Regions from separate parts of the Homo sapiens genome. Here region 2 is linked to region 1. Evidence: promoter capture Hi-C in 16 types of primary human blood cells and fetal thymus (Javierre and others, 2016). All regions are on one chromosome and are shown on one strand. Each heading gives the region's core, a stretch centred on a gene start or on the middle of the fragment in contact. The rest is flanking DNA. Distances are from core to core; before and after follow the strand shown. Region 1 holds the start of RSPH6A (radial spoke head 6 homolog A). Region 2 holds the start of NOVA2 (NOVA alternative splicing regulator 2).

Region 1 (3,647 bases), core at 651-3,150:
AAAAGGCGGCTGAGTTTTCTTCCACCCCCTTCCCAAGTTGCCCTCGTGGTCCAGCCGCCTGGATCGGGAAGACAAAGGCCTCTGGAGGGAGGTCGGGGCTGCTTGTTGCCCATCCAGAGGAATCTTGGATGGTGGGATTTGGGCATGGTCTTGGCAAGGTCTTTCTCCCAGTGTCAAGGCTCGGGGGGATGCCTGTGTGCCTCTCCCGACGGCTCCCTCCCTCCCTGGTTCAGGTGTGGAAGTACCCCAAGGTGTGGGAGGGCTTCATCAAGTGCTGCCAGCGCACAAAGCCCCAGAGCTTCCAGGTCATCCTGCAGCTGCCGCCCCAGCAGCTGGGAGCCGTCTTTGACAAGTGCCCAGAGCTCCGGGAGCCCCTGCTGGCCCATGTCCGCTCCTTCACCCCCCACCAGGTACCCCTTCCCCCCACCAGGTACCCTTTCCCCCCACCCAGGGTGTGCGGTGGGCGGCCCCCTGGGTCCCTCTGGTTGGTGGGGACTGGATGGAGGCGGACACAAGAAGGCCCTGCACTGCTGGGAGTTCTGGAGGGTTAGGGCCCCCGGACCTGAGGTGTGCAAATGGGGTCTCTGTGCCAGAGCTGCCCCCAGCGCCCCCTTCCTGCTCTCCACCCAGCAAGCTCACATCCCTAACTCCATCATGACCATCTTGGAGGCCAGCGGCAAGCAGGAGCCAGAGGCCAAGGAGGCGCCTGCGGGGCCCTTGGAGGAGGTGAGGGCCCTGCAGCCCACCCATCTGGATCCCCAGACTCCCACCCCCTACCCCAAGCCAGCAAGGCTCACCATGGCCTCCTCCTGACCCCGAGAGACTCAGGCCACCCCTGCCTCTGGGCCACCCGTCTCCCAGGGGATGCTCCTGCTGGGAGTTGGGGGTCTGGGGGACAACTGCCCCTTCCTCCCCATGCTCTTGGTGAAGAACTCAAAGACCACCTCAGGGTGGTTCCTTCTCTTTCCGGCCGTCCTCTGAGCCACCCACCTCTGAGCTTCTGTGTGGCCCTCCCTATCCCCAGGATGATCTGGAGCCCCTGACCTTGGCCCCGGCCCCAGCACCCCGGCCCCCTCAGGACCTCATCGGCCTGCGACTGGCCCAGGAGAAGGCCTTAAAGCGGCAGCTGGAGGAGGAACAGAAGCTGAAGCCGGGAGGAGTGGGAGCCCCCTCCTCTTCCTCCCCCTCTCCCTCTCCGTCGGCCCGGCCAGGCCCGCCCCCGTCTGAGGAAGCCATGGATTTCCGGGAGGAGGGGCCTGAGTGCGAGACCCCGGGCATCTTCATCAGCATGGATGACGACTCGGGGCTGACCGAGGCCGCGCTGTTGGACTCTAGTCTCGAGGGCCCCCTACCCAAGGTAGGGAGAGCAGCCTCCGCTGCGAAGGAAGAAGCCGGATCTGGGCCGGGGTGAAGGTGGGGGAGGAGGGGCCATCAGGGGGCAGGGCCTGAAGGGGAGCGTGGAGGTGACCGCGCCCTCCACCCGGCTGCCCTTTCCTTCCCCGGTCACCAGGAGACGGCAGCGGGCGGGCTGACCTTGAAGGAGGAGCGGAGCCCCCAGACCCTCGCACCTGTTGGAGAAGATGCTATGAAGACTCCCAGCCCGGCTGCCGAGGACGCCAGGGAACCCGAGGCCAAGGGGAACAGCTGACGGGGCTCGAGGGGGAAAGGGGGTGGGACAGGGACTCGGGGCTGGGGGACGGGGCGGGGCTTGACCTGCGGGTGCTTTGCCTTAAAAAGAAATAAAAGATGTGAACTTGGGCAAGTTACTGAAAAGAAAAAAAAAAAGGGATGGCGGGCCTGGGGCGCGGGTGCCGTCTCGAGTCTGGCGCGACGTCCACCGTGGGGCTGCGCGGGATCGGGAGTGCGCGCCCAGAGCCTGCGCGGAACCCACCCTGGCCCGCTCCCCGCGCCCTCCACGGGTAACGGCCCCCTCTCTCGGTGCTCAGAAACCGGCGGTGTCGACAGGTGGCTCTCGCTTGGCCTCCTTGTCTGCAAGCCTTTCTCCTAGAGATCTGTGCCTCCTGGCGAACCATGGGAGACCTGCCGCCCTACCCTGAGCGCCCTGCCCAGCAGCCTCCGGGCCGGAGGACTTCTCAGGCCTCCCAGAGGCGGCACAGTCGGGACCAAGCTCAGGCCCTGGCAGCGGACCCCGAGGAGAGGCAGCAGATACCTCCAGACGCCCAGCGAAACGCCCCTGGTTGGTCACAGAGGGGCAGCCTGTCCCAACAGGAGAACTTGCTGATGCCCCAGGTCTTCCAGGCTGAGGAAGCCCGGCTGGGTGGCATGGAGTACCCATCTGTGAACACGGGCTTTCCCTCAGAGTTCCAGCCTCAGCCTTACTCTGATGAAAGCAGGATGCAGGTCGCCGAGCTCACCACCAGCCTAATGCTGCAGCGGCTCCAGCAGGGCCAAAGCAGCCTGTTCCAGCAACTGGACCCCACCTTCCAGGAGCCCCCAGTCAACCCCTTGGGCCAGTTCAACCTCTACCAGACAGACCAGTTCTCTGAAGGTGCCCAGCACGGGCCTTACATAAGGGATGACCCTGCCCTTCAGTTCTTGCCCTCTGAGCTGGGCTTCCCACACTACAGTGCCCAGGTGCCTGAGCCCGAGCCTCTGGAGCTGGCCGTGCAGAACGCCAAGGCCTACCTGCTGCAGACCAGCATCAATTGCGACCTCAGCCTGTGAGCAGGGGCTAGGAGTGGGGCGGGTGGGGGACCCAGGCAGGGAGGGGCCCCACCCGAAGTGCCTGCCTCAGTCAGTCAGACAAGGGATCATCCCTCATGGAAAACCAGTGACTCTAATTCAGCTGAGTCGGAATCAATGCCAACAACAGCTAGCATTCACTTCCCAGACATGTGCTGGCACTGCACACACTCACCTAATTCTCACCGGAGATGAGCACATCAGCTCATCCTACTTTACAGAGGAGGAGACCGAGACACAGAGAAGTTGGGTCGCTTACCCAAAACTACACAGCTAGGATATGGCAGAGTCAGGATTCCAGAACACGTGATTTGGCTCCCCAAGCCCTCTTGCTTTTTTTTTCCCCCAGACATAGTCTCACCCTGTCACCCAGGCTGGAGCACAGTGGCGTGGTCTTGGCTTAGGGCAACCTCTCCTTCCCAAGTTCAAGTGATTCTTCTGCTTCAGCCTCCCGAGTAGTTGGGGTTACAGGCGCGCTCCACTTCACCCAGCTAATTTTTGTATTTTTAGTAGAGGCAAGATTTCACCATGTTGCCCAGGCTAGTCTCAAACTCGACCTCAAGTGATCCGCCCATCTCAGCCTCCCAAAGTGCTAGGATTGCAGGCATGAACCACCGTGCCCAGCCCTCCTGAGACCCTCTTATCCTGCAACTAAACCTCCCTGCCTGAGGAAGATACTTGCCAAAGCCACTTAGCTACAGTCACAAAACACTGCTCTCAGCCTCCATTAGATACCCAGGATGCTCTCATTCTAGGAGAGTGGACAAGAAACAGAAAAAGTGATAAACTGAAGCTAAGGACTCAGGTGAAAAATAAGGGAGGCTAAGAGGGCTAGGGAACACATGAAATAGTGGGGGTCCAACCAGGTGCGGTGGCTCACGCCTGTTATCCCAGCACTTGAGGAGGCCAAGACGGGCGGATCACCTGAGGTCAGGAGTTCGAGA
Region 2 (3,940 bases), core at 212-2,711, 160 kb before region 1:
ATCCAGACCCCTTCTGAGCCTAATCTTGCCTCTGACCAACCCAGGAAGGAAAGATTCCTTGGAGGTTAAGAACCCAGGGAGAAGGAAATTCTTGCATCAAGGAACACAGAATAATAGCAATGATCCATTCCAAAGAAAGGCACCCTAGTTCCAATGACTTTGGGCTCTGAAATTGGACTTGTCCTGCGTTCTCATCCCAGTTTCTCTCTCTCAAGCTGTGTGCCCTTGAAGAAGCCACCCTCAATGTTCCCAGGCCTCCACTTTGTCATCTGAAAACAAATTTTTCTTAATGACATGAGTAGTAATACTGTACAAGGGCCAAGGCTGTTTTGTTCTCTATTGTATCGCAGCATCAGGGACAGTGCCTGGCACTTAGTAGGTAGGCCCTGAGTGCTGTTGTTTGAATGGAGAGCCAGTTGTGCCCCAGGGCAGGTGCTGCAGGCTGCAACTCCAGCTCAGTGAATTCAATCCTCTGAGCCCTTTCAGCATCACGGTGTTGATTCTTCAAAGGATGGATGAAAGATTTGAAGGGGAATTTCCCAGCTGAAAGGATTGAAAAAGAGTGAAGTGAAATTTCTTTCTCTTTCTTTCTTTCTTTTTTTTTTTTTTTTTTGAGACAAGGTTTTGCTCTGTCTCCCAGGCTCGAATCTAGTTGCTTGATCATGGCTGACTGCAGCCTCAAACTCCTGTGCTCAAGAGATCCTCCCACCTCAGACTCCAGAGTACCTGGGGCTACAAGCATGTGCTACCACGCCTGGCTAATTAAAAAAAAAATTTTTTTTTTGTAGAGATGGGGTCTCACAATATTGTTGCCCAGCTCGTCTCAAACTCCTGGGCTCAAGTGATTCTTCCGCCTCGGCCTCCCAAAGTGCTGGGATGACAGGCATGAACCACCGCGCCTAGTCGAAATTTCTTGTCTTGACCAAGTGAAGTCAAAGTAAGCTCCTAAGGCTGTTTCCTCATCTGTAAAATAGGGATAATAAGCGTAACTCACAGAGCTGGTCGCTCTGGGGAGTAAATGCGATAACGTCTGTGACGTGCTTGCTTGGAACCGGACCTGGCACACAGTAAGTGCTCAATAAACGTTCATTCAAGGTGAGGAGTGGGGACGGCTTGGAGGAGCCCGGGGTCCTCCCAGCAGCCTGGGGGAGTCGGGTCCAGCTCTCTGCCGCCGGGAGGGGCGTGGCCAACCCAGAGGGACGTGGTCCAGGCTTCAAGGCTGGACCAATGGGGGCGCCGAAGGGCGTGGCCCTACCCGGCATGGGCGTGACCTCGTTGGGTGGGAGGGGCCAGGCGCTGTGGGAGCCTCCGGGAAGAAGATGCTCGGGCCAGCAGCCACCGCCAGCCCCGTCGCCGCCGCCGCCCGCGCCCGCCGCCCCCCGGGCCCCCACTAGCGGCCGCCTCCGCCTCCCACTCCGGCCACGCTCCTCCGGCCCCCCACCCCGAGCAGGGTCTGGGGGGCTCGGCCCTCTTGCCCCAGGGAGCCAAGAAGAAGCGGGGAGTCCCGTCCCCCCAGTGGCGCGTCCAGTCCCCAGCCTCTGTGGTCCCAGGAGAGACCCCACCTCTCAGTTCTTTCCCGGCCCTATCGGAGACCCCCCTCGGCCCTGCCATCCTGCTCACGGCCGCTCTCCAGGCTCTGTCAGCCCCCCGAGAACCGGCTCCCCCCTACCCCCGCCTTCCCTCTCCGGGGCTCCCCCTCCCCCATCCCTCCACCGCCCCCTCCCCCTCCCACCTCCCCTCCCCTCCCCCTCCCCCGCCCCCCGCCCCCCGCCCCCCCCCACCATGAGGATGATGGCCGCCGGCGCGGTGCACGGCCTCTTCACGGCCTCCGCGGCCCCGCAGCCGCCGCCGCCCCCGCCGCCGCCGCCGCCGCAACCCCAGCCTCCCCAGCAGCCGTCGCCGCCGCCACAGCAGCCGCCGCCGCCGCCGCCGCAGCCGCCGCAGCAGCAGCAGCCGCCGCCCCAGGCCCCCCCCATGGAGCCCGAGGCCCCGGATTCCCGCAAGAGGCCCCTCGAAACGCCCCCCGAGGTGGTCTGCACCAAGCGCAGCAACACGGGAGGTGAGAAAGGGCTGCGGCTCGGGGCGGGGGAGCGGGCAGGGGGCCTCGCCTTTCTCCATCCTTTCCCCCCCTCCCGTGGCAGGTGCAAGGGCTCTGGGGAGGGGAGAGACACCCCTCCCCGAGGCGGGGGACAGAGCGGGGAGTTGAGGAGGGGGCTGGACCCCCTCCTCCTCTCGCTGAGGCCCGGGGCTGGGAGCTTTGTCTGCGAGGAGAGGGGTGGGGGGGAGGGGGTGATAAGTGTCCTTGGGGGGCGCAGAAGATGGGGGGCGTGGGAGCCTCAGGGCAGGTGTCTGTGTGTCCTTGAGGGGTGTGTGATGTGACCCTTTCGGAGCAGGGGTGTTCCCCGAGCTCGCGTGTCCTGGCTGGGGGAGGGGAAGGAGTAGAGGCCTGTGGACCGGGAGCTTCCCAGCCTCCCTCCCTGGGGATGTCCTGAACAAGGGTTGTCCCAGATGGAGGCTTGTGTGGCCCTGGCCGGATCGTGCGTGGGGACAGGCTGGGTAGGTGTGTGGGGTGAAATGGAGGAAATGGTGGGTGTGTAAAGCTAGGTGGGAGAATGTGAGGCTAGGACAGGTGTGTATGTGTGTGCGTGTGTGTGTATGTGTGCCCTCTACAGCCTGGATGTGTGACATTAGGGATCAGGAATATGACAGCATAGGGGGGTGTATGAGAAAGACAGGGGACAGGGGCTGGGCTCCATGTTTGAGACCCTCCAGCGGGTACGTGTGACAAGGAAAGGTGTGTGCTTGTCACCCCCAAGGGGGCTGTGGCAGAGTGTGACACATGAGAGGGTGTGTGTGACATGCAAGGAGGTGTGTGGGGGACACCGAATGGGCTGGCTCTGGGTGTCAGCCAGAAGAGGCCGTGTAGATCAGAGGAAAGGGGTCCAGTGTGTGTGACACAGGCGTGGCTGGTGAGGGGATGTGACAAGAAAAGGGTGTGGGTGTGACTCCAGAGAGGCTGTGGCTGGGTGTGACACATGGAGGTGTGCAACAGTGACATCAGAGGGGGTGTGTGCAACAGGGAAGGTGGGTGTATGACGAGGGAGAGGCTGGGGCTTGTGGGTGAAACGCACGAGGGTGTGTAAAAAGGAGAAGGAAGGATGGGTCCCCATGTGACAGGGCACGTGTGCATATGACACCCAGCTGTGTGTATGGGTGTAACAAGGAGAGGTGTGTGTGTGAAATGGCTGAGTGTGTGACACCAGAGATATGGGGATGATTCTGCATGTGTTTGACAAGGGAGGCTGTGTGTGTGTCCGTGTGTATTGGAGATTGCCGAATGTTTGACACCACGGAAGGCAGTGTGAGGGAAGAGAGGGGCTCTCCCTGGGTGTGTGACCCAAGGAGGTGTGTGTACCAGAGAAGAAAAGCCGAGCTGGGAACTCTAGGTGCATGCCCTGCCGTGGGGGGCTCAGGGAAGAGGTGGGGTTTTTTGGGGTCCTCAGAGCCCTGTCCTCTAGCTCCCTGGTAGGAGGGAGACCCCGCAGCGGACAAGCCCCTCCCCGCGGTCACCTTGCCAAAATCTCCACTTCCTCTGGCCTTTTCCTCCGGATGGGAGAGGGATGGCTTCAGGCAGAGTGCACCCTTTCCTCTCCGCCAGGCCTGGCAGTGGGTGGGGTGGGGGCCTCCTACCTCCTCCCTACAGATGAATACAAGCCGACTTTCTTCCTCCCATCCTAGCCCTCCCCCACCTCCATCCAGGTGGGACAGGAATCAGGGACCCCCTGGATGCCTGTGAGGGTGTCCAGCAGAAATTGGAGGAAAGGGAAGTTGGGGGAGGGGATGGGAGGGAGTTTCCTGTCCTTCTTCCTGCTCCCCCACCCCCAGCACACACATGAATATGTCCCCGACTTCCTTCCCTCCTTCCTGCCCCACTGCTGTT

The links. Contacts are between HindIII fragments. The CHiCAGO score rates a contact against its expected background, and 5 or more counts as called.
Region 2: the fragment with the promoter of NOVA2 here is called in contact with the fragment with the promoter of RSPH6A in region 1 in 3 of 17 cell types (neutrophils, total B cells and M0 macrophages); the score reaches 7.5 in neutrophils.

What each region holds. Positions count from the first base shown.
Region 1 is chr19:45,813,561-45,817,207 of GRCh38, reverse strand. It overlaps RSPH6A (radial spoke head 6 homolog A), which reads left to right and starts at 1,900. Exons shown (of 6, transcript NM_030785.4): 1 at 1,900-2,681. The coding sequence starts at 2,032. SYMPK (symplekin scaffold protein) reads left to right here. Exons shown (of 27, transcript NM_004819.3): 24 at 234-410; 25 at 631-726; 26 at 1,025-1,357; 27 at 1,511-1,798. The coding sequence ends at 1,648. RefSeq lists an enhancer at 157-226. The HindIII fragment of the contact is 28,371 bases long and covers 1-3,647 here.
Region 2 is chr19:45,971,386-45,975,325 of GRCh38, reverse strand. NOVA2 (NOVA alternative splicing regulator 2) reads left to right here and starts at 1,461. Exons shown (of 4, transcript NM_002516.4): 1 at 1,461-2,059. The coding sequence starts at 1,975. RefSeq lists a silencer at 1,136-1,295. The HindIII fragment of the contact is 31,968 bases long and covers 1-3,940 here.